Linked DNA regions of Homo sapiens: region 1 is linked to region 2. Evidence: promoter capture Hi-C in human tissues and cell types (Jung and others, 2019). All regions are on one chromosome and are shown on one strand. The core of a region is centred on a gene start or on the middle of the fragment in contact, and the rest is flanking DNA. Distances in the headings are between cores, read along the strand shown.

Region 1 (3,960 bases), core at 567-3,066, 130 kb after region 2:
CATTTATAGAAAAGAAACACACAACAATTTAAACATTGGATTAATTTTTCTAATTATATTTTGCTCAGGCTAATATTAAATTGATTTTCATTTCTCAATTGCATGCCACCTGATGTTGACACAACACAAACTAGAGATATACCAGATGGTAGTGATGAAATATACTTTATATCATCTACACAGCAAAACAATGAGTGGTGACAAAAAATTTGGGGTTGGCCCTTGGTCCCTGACCAGGTGCTTGGAGTCTGTGCAGACCCCACATAGGAGCTGATAGTCAGGATCATAATCCTAGCAGGCAGGATATAAGGTTACTGGGGGTAGAAATTCCCAGCTGCAGCTTTTTCATCTGAGCACCACAAACACAGCAGCCCCGGGAGCAAGAAAATAGCCTGGTATCAACTCAGCATCCCCGCTGAATGGCATCAGGAAAATTCAGTGTGCCTGCAGATTGTTAAAGGATGTACTTTGCAGTTCCCCTGAAGTGATAAGAAAATACAATTATTAAATTTTTGGTTTGTTTATAATCTAACCTGAAGGTACCAGGGAGGCATGAAGAGGCTTGGTTGGTATTTAAAATAATCTGTTAAAGCTTTAGAAATGAAATTAATGTTTTCATCTTTGTCATGTTTCACAGGCTCAGAAAAAATGTCTGAATCAGACTTCCCCCATTTCTGCTCCCAAGACCACAGACGGCCTGAGGCAAGCACAGATCCCTGGGCTCTTGAGCACCACACTGCCAGGTCAGGAGCTTCCTCAGTTTGTCCCTGTCCTCCCAACACCACGGGATGCTCTTCTCACTTTTCTCCCTCATTCTGCACGAAAGCTTTCTGGCTTAATCTCGTCTCCACTCCGATTATTCCTTTCTTTCTGTATCCTTTCCGCAAATAATATACTGTGTTGCATCAACTCTAAGATAGCATTGGGCCGGGCACGGTGGCTCACGCCTGTAATGCCAGCACTTTGGGAGGCCAAGGAGAGTGGATCACCTGAGATCAGGAGTTCAAGACCAGCCCGACCAACATGATGAAACCCCATCTCTACTAAAAATACAAAAATTAGCCAGGCATGGTGGCACACGCCCGTAATCCCAGCTACTCAGGAGGCTGAGGCAGGAGAATCGCTTGAACCCGGGAGGCAGAGCTTGCAGTGAGCTGAGATCACACCACTGCATTCCAGTCTGGGTGACAGGGCGAGACTCTGTCTCAAAAAAAAAAAAAAAAAACCCCACTAAGATAGCATCAATTGTAAGATGTACTATCATTTTTTATACTACCAAAAAGAAAAACAAGCACTTCTATCTAAATTATGACACATTAAATTATGTGGAAAAAAAATACTTCTTAGAAACAATAAATTGAGGCCGGGCACGGTGGCTCACACCTGTAATCCCAGCACTTTGGGAGGCCGAGGCGGGCAGATCATGAGGTCAGGAGATCAAGACCAGCCTGGCCAACATGGTGAAACCCTGTCTGTACTAGCTGGGCATTGTCCTAGCTACCCAGGAGGCTGAGGCAGGAGGATCACCTGAGCCTGGGAGGTCGAGGCTGCAGTGAGCTATGATTGCGCCACTGCACTCCAGCCTGGGCGACAGAACAAGACCTTGTCTCAAAAAAAAAAAAAAAAAAGAAAAGGTATTTTACAGTACTTGTGACTTTGAAATTATCCCCATGTTGCTCTCTACATGCATGTTTGGAATTCTCCACCCAGACTGAAAATATTATGGACTATGTCTTCCGTTTTTTCTAAGGCTTTGAACATCTGCAGTACCCAATTAGTACTTAAAAAAAAAAAGGCAAGAAAGAGAAAAAGCTTGAATATTCCCAGTCAATTGCCTCTTTGGGCCTCCCTTTCCTTAAATTGTATTTTGGGATTCTGTAGTGCTGACAGATTACTGGCTTGAGGCCTGTTTTTCAGACTATAAATAATTTGAAACTATAGCATTTGGAGCTTCTATTTATTACTATTTACTTATTTATTACTTAAATAGGCTTTAATAACCTCTTCCTTTAGAGCTTGTAAGTAAATGCACTACCCTGCCCTCCTTCTTCACAGCAAGCAGCCATGATAAAGAAACCCGTTTCAGAATGCTCAACAGTCTGTACCCATTGGGTTCTAGGGTTATATGATGGACCCAATTTACTGTTTCTTTTGAACACTGTCTCATGTATTAATTCTAATAGGGCAGGATTCTGGAAGCAAAGTTATATCCGCATCCTTAGGAACCGCACAACCACAGCAGGAAAAAGTAGTTGGATCATCTCCTGGCCATCCAGCTGTGCAGGTAGAAAACTATTGGCATAGCCTCTTCCTAATGTTCGGCATAATTGAATGAAAATGTAGTCGTGCTATCTTTGTGGTTGCTGGCTAGCTTTGTGTGCACAGTCCACCCAGTCCCCTGTGTGCCCACAACAGGGTGGTCATTGAAGACCTTCCTGGTGGGCTGGGCCTTGTTATGTTTATGTTTCTGAGATGAATGTCTATTCTATTTCTGACATGTTTACAGTGCTTCATTAATCCATCATTTCCTCATGAATTAGTAATATACCAGCAGCTAGTACATACTAGGCACTCAAAAAATGTCATTTACTACTAGGTGATATCGTTCACTATTATATCAAAGCGAATCTCTTCTTCTTAGTTATACTGAGGGATTTTTGTTTTTCTGTAGTAGTAACCAGGCGTATAGGAAGTAGGCCATCCCTACGGTCTTTTGACCCAACTTTGACACTTTTTAAAGTCCAACTTTTTGGTTTTTGTTTGAGACAGGGTCTCACTCTGTCACCCAGGCTGGCATGCAGTAGTGCAATCACAGCTTACTGCAGCCTTGACCTCCCAGGCTCAGGTGACCCTCCTGCCTCAGCCTTCTGGGTAGCTAGGACAATGCCCAGCTGTTTTTTTGTATTTTTTGTAGAGATAGGATTTTGCCATGTTGCTCACACCTGTCTCAAACTCCTGGGCCCAAGCCATCCACCCACCTCAGCCTCCCAAAGTACCTGGATTACAGGTGTGAGCCACTGTGCCCTGTCTAGTCCAGCTGGGTTTTTTGTTTTGTTTTTGTTTTTGTTTTTGTTTTGTTTTGAGTTGGGGTCTCACCCTGTCACTCAGACTGTGCTGCAGTGGTGTGATCACAGCTCACTGAAGCCTCGATCACCTGGGCTCATGCGATCCTCCCACCTCAGCTTCCTGAGTAGCTGGGACTACAGGCACGCACCACCACGCCTGGCTAATATTTTTATATTTTTTTTAAGAGAAAACGTTTTGCCATGTTGGCCAGGCTGGTCTGAAACTCCTGGGCTCAAGCAATTCTCCCACCTCAGCCTACCAAAGTGCTAGAATTACAGGCTTAAGCAACCACTCCTGGCCTAGTTTTTTTTGTTTGTTTGTTTTTTTGATACATGATAGATGTACATATTTTCAGGGCACATTTGATAACTTCAAGTTTGGCTTTTAAACCTAAAAGATTTCAAACTACTAGTCTAAAATGGAAGGAAACATTTCTTGTTTTCAGCTTACTAAGACAGTTTCGTTTCCATCAGACCTACCAATTAGTGGTTGAATGAAACTTGCTGCAGTGTGGGACTGCCTGGAATACACAGTGAAGGATCTGTTCAGTTCTAAGGTTCTGAGATAAGGCCTATTTGTTTCCTTAACATGATGTAAAAAATGCCTCGTTAGATCACACACCTGGACTATATATAACAGGAGCTTAAAAGTGTGTATCCCATACTTACACTGAGAAGATGGATTAGATAGTATCTACTGACTTTTCAGATGTCTGTGGAATTTCAAAAATATAACGATGGGTCAGTGCTGTGGCTCACACCTGTAATCCCAACACTTTGGGAGGCCAAGGCAGGCGGATGGCTTGAGTCCAGGAGTTCGAGACAAGCCTGGAAAATATGGCAAAACTCCGTCTCTACAAAAAATACCAAAAAATTAACAGGCGTGGTGGTGCAT
Region 2 (4,178 bases), core at 603-3,102:
CCTCAGCCAGGTAGGGTCGAGTCAGACAGAAAGAAGAGGTGAGGGAAAGCGGCTGCCTCAAGGCAGGCTGCCCTTTCCCTGAAAAGTCACTCGAGCCCCAGGTTGGTGGGTGTGTTGGGAAGAGCAGCCCGCTGGAGCCAGTGCACAGGCTGTTCCCTCCGACACAGTGGTCGAGAGTCTCTCTCTCACCAGCACCTCCCACAGCCCATCGCAGCATTTTACTTTTACATATGCCAAGAATACTTTAGAAATGCTTTATCACATTGCACTATCATGACTCGCTAAGTAAACACCAGCAAGCATTTAATGAGTACCTGCTGCATGCCAGCTACCAGGCAGGGCTAGGAGGTGACTTCCAAAATTACCTATTCTATTCCAGTGCTCATTTAAAAGATGGGCAAGCCAAAGCGCAGAGTGACTAGTGACCTGCCCAAGGTCACAAGACCTTGAACAACAGAACCAAAACTTCACCCTAGATCTCATGACTTCCCCTTCCTATGCTCTTTCCAACATATCCAGACAAACATCTTGGGAATGGATGCTCAGGGTTGAAAGGTTGGAAAACAAGGGAACTAACTAGGAAATTTAAACTTCTGGGACTGAATCCATCTACTTTGAATGAATGGGACAAATAGCCAAATAGTACCTCAGTGTTTGTGATCTATGAATGACTTCCATCCCTCTGTATAAAGTGGACACACATTGCTGCCTGGCTCTTCATCCCAAGGGGCTCCTATCCAAACAGCTTATATAAATTGATACCTTCCTACCACCTTAGCCAATGTTAGGTTGAACCCTATGAAGTTGTCATTTTTTATGGGTCAAAGAGGTAGAATATTAGCAATTTCATATGGTTCCACCTGATACACCCTCACATACGCAGCAATAAGTTGTGCACCCGATGGAGAGGAAAAGGCACTGGGTGCGGGGAGAGGGGCTGGTCAGAGGCCTGAGCCTCAGTGTCCCCAATATATTCATAGCTCTGACCCCAGGACTGGAAGCCACTCACTCTTTGACTTCTTTGGAGGAAAAGTCCAGGTAGCGATTGCTGATCCACTGAATCTCAAACCAGTCCCGAAAACCGTTGTTGCCGCAGCATTTGAACTCGATCTGCAGCATGTCGATGGTCTTCTTCATGAAACACCTGCCAGGGGTGTCTGTGTCCCGGTAGTACTTCATGCCGTTCTTGAGCCCTTGGCCCAGGGTGTTCTCCAGCGAGCCCCGAAGCAGAAAGCAGCAGAGAGCCACAAGGAAGAGGATGATGTTGAAGAGAACACAGATAGCCAGGTACGGCTTCAGCCAGGGCTTCCATCTGGCATACTTGGCTGGGTCCAGGGCGTCGTAGCAGATCTTCCCAGCCAGCGAGTTGAAGACACAGGATAGCACCCCCATCCCTATCAATGAGTTGGGCACAAAATGGCTCTCAGAATTATTCATCACATCGCTCCTCTTTCGGAGTTCAATCTTCAGGAACAGTCCTAGGCTGAAGATGATGATGCCAGCCAACACGGAGAACCAGTTCATGAGCCAGAGCCCTTGGGCCAACTTGACCCGCTTCTTCTGGTCAAACTTGACTTTCAGTAGCGCCATGCTTGCCAAGTGTAGTCCGGGTTGCTTCCCACAGCACAGCTCCCACCCCAAACCTTAACGAGCCCAGAGGCGGAGACTTAGGGCCTTGGGAAAAGTGCAGATGGCCCAAGCTGTAGGGAGCTGCCCTGGGGGCTACCCATGTCGAGTCCCACTAGCCTGGGATCCCCGTGAATGCAGTAGTGGTGGCAGGGGTCTCGGAATCACAGCTTGAGCAGGGGATAGTCCTGGTCCTGGGCGTTGTTTCTTCAGCGCCCTTCCCAGCCAAGAAGGGGCAGCCTGAACGCTGCAGATTAAAAGTGGGATCCACAAGACATTTTGCTAATCTCTTTAGCCAGGTTCATCCCATTAGATAAAGCCATGCCACTCTCAAAACATGGTCAAAAGCAGCCTCCAGGTACATGCTGAACCAGAAAGCTCTGGGTACAGCTTGGAGAATCAGGAGCAAAGGGCAAGACTGGCCAGAAGAATGGGCTGTATCTGGATGTCTGGCTCAGACCGTGTTGCTCCCCAAAAGCATATTTCCAGGCCAATCTCCTTCAACATTTAAAACTTTCTGTAGGACAAATAAATTGTTATCCTCTCTGAGAAAAGAAATGACAGGGCCAGGCACAGTGGATCACGCCTATAATCCCAGCACTTTGGGAGACCAAGTTGGGTGGATCACTTGAGCCCAGGAGTTCAAGACCAGCCTGGGCTACATAGGAAGACCCCATCTCCACACACACACACACACACACAAAAAAAAAAAAAAAAAAATTAGCTGGGTATGGTGGCATGCACCTGTAGTTCTCCCAGCTACTCTGGAGGCTGAGGTGGCAAGATCACCTGAGCCTGGGGAGTTCAAGGCTGCACTGAGCCATGATCGTGCCACTGCACTCCAGCCTGGGTGACAGAGTGAGGCCCTGTCTCAAATTTTAAAAAGACAAAGAAAAGAAGAGAAGAAGGAAGGAAAGAAAGAAAGTGACAGATCGTGAGAAAACATTTGCAACTTGTAAAATTAAAAAGTAATATACAGTGGCCAGGCATGGTGGCTTATGCCTGTAATCCCAGTACTTTGGGAGGCCAAGGCAGGTGGATCGCTTGAGCCCAGGAGGTGGAGGTTGCACTGAACTGAGATCCCCACATTGCACTCCAGCCTGGGTGACAGTGAGACTCTGTCTGGAAAAAAAAAAAAAAGAATTAATATGCAAAAATGTTTTAAGTCTCACAAATTCACAATAAACAAAAATTCACAATCAAAAGACCAATAATCAACTGGAAAAATAGGCAAAAACCAGGAACAGACAATTCATAATTAGGAAACTTGAAAAGTCCAATAATCTGGAAAAGATCTCAACTTGGGTAATAAGCAGGAAAATGCAAATCCAAACAACAATAAAATACCAAACTTGGCCGGGCACAGTGGTTCACACCTGTAATCCCAGCAGTTTGGAAGGCCAAGGTGGGTGGATCACTTGAGGTCAGGCATTCAAGACCAGCCTGGCCAACATGGTGAAACCCTGTCTCTACTAAAAATACAAAAATTGTCTGGGTATGGTGACAGGCACCTGTAATCCCAGTTACTTGTGAGGCTGAGGAAGGAGCATCAATTGAACCCGGGAAGTGGAGGTTGCAGTGAGCCAAGATTGCGCCATTGCACTCCAGCCTGGGTGACAAGAGTGAAATGACGTCTCAAAAAAAGAAAAAGACCAAACTCGATCCATCAAATTGAATGTATGTCAAAATTCTGTCACCATACATCAACAAAGAGAGTGGAAGTAGAAGTGTACACTCTTGGTGAATCTGTACATTTATTATTATTATTAATTAATGGATTATTTCTTACAGTAGTTTTAGGTTTACAAAAAAATTGAACAGAAAATACAGGGAGTTCCCATTATTCTCCATCTCCCCAACCAGTTTCTCCTCTAATTAATATCTTGCATTAATGTGGTACATTTGTTACAATTAATGAACCAATATTGATGCACTATTATTAACTAAAGTCTATAGTTTACATTAAGGTTCAGTCTTTGTGCATATAATTCTGTCACTTTTGCCAAATGCATAATGTCATGTATTCATCATTATTGTATCATACAGAATACTTCCACTACTCTAATAACCTGCCATGTTCTGCCTATTCATTCCTCCTTCCCTCACTCCTCAGCCCTGGGCAACCACCGTCTAGATCTATAGTTTTGCCTTATCTAGAATATCTTACAGTTGGAATCATACAACATGTAGCCTTTTCAGACTGGCTTCTTTCCCTTAGCAATATATGTGATTAATGATTCTCTGTATCTTTTCACGGCTTAATAGCTCATTTCTTCTTATCACTGAATAACGTTTCATCACATGGATGTACCACGGTTTATTCCTTCACCTATCAGAGAATATCCTGGTTGATTCCAGTTTTTGACAATTATGAATAAAACTGCTATAAACATCCACGTGCAGGTTTTTGCTGAAAAATTTTCCATTCATCTGGGTAAATATCTAGGAGCACAATGGCTAGATTACATAGTAAGACTATGTTTAACTTTGTAAGAAACTGCCAATCTGTCTTGCAAAGTGACTGTACAATTTTGCATTCCTACCAGCAATTT

What was found. The method cuts DNA at HindIII sites, captures the fragments that hold promoters and counts their contacts. A contact is called where the count stands out against the background at its distance.
Region 1: a fragment that was not itself captured here is called in contact with the fragment with the promoter of PRPH2 in region 2 in 2 of the 25 tissues and cell types used here (heart right ventricle and spleen).

The regions. Positions count from the first base shown.
Region 1 is chr6:42,851,455-42,855,414 of GRCh38, forward strand. BICRAL (BICRA like chromatin remodeling complex associated protein) reads left to right here. Exons shown (of 13, transcript NM_001393499.1): 7 at 638-743; 8 at 2,184-2,284. Among named protein-coding and RNA genes, the nearest start is that of RPL7L1, 26 kb to the right of the region's middle. The HindIII fragment of the contact is 4,425 bases long and covers 1-3,960 here.
Region 2 is chr6:42,720,745-42,724,922 of GRCh38, forward strand. It overlaps PRPH2 (peripherin 2), which reads right to left and starts at 1,853. Exons shown (of 3, transcript NM_000322.5): 1 at 1,010-1,853. The coding sequence starts at 1,590. The HindIII fragment of the contact is 25,287 bases long and covers 1-4,178 here.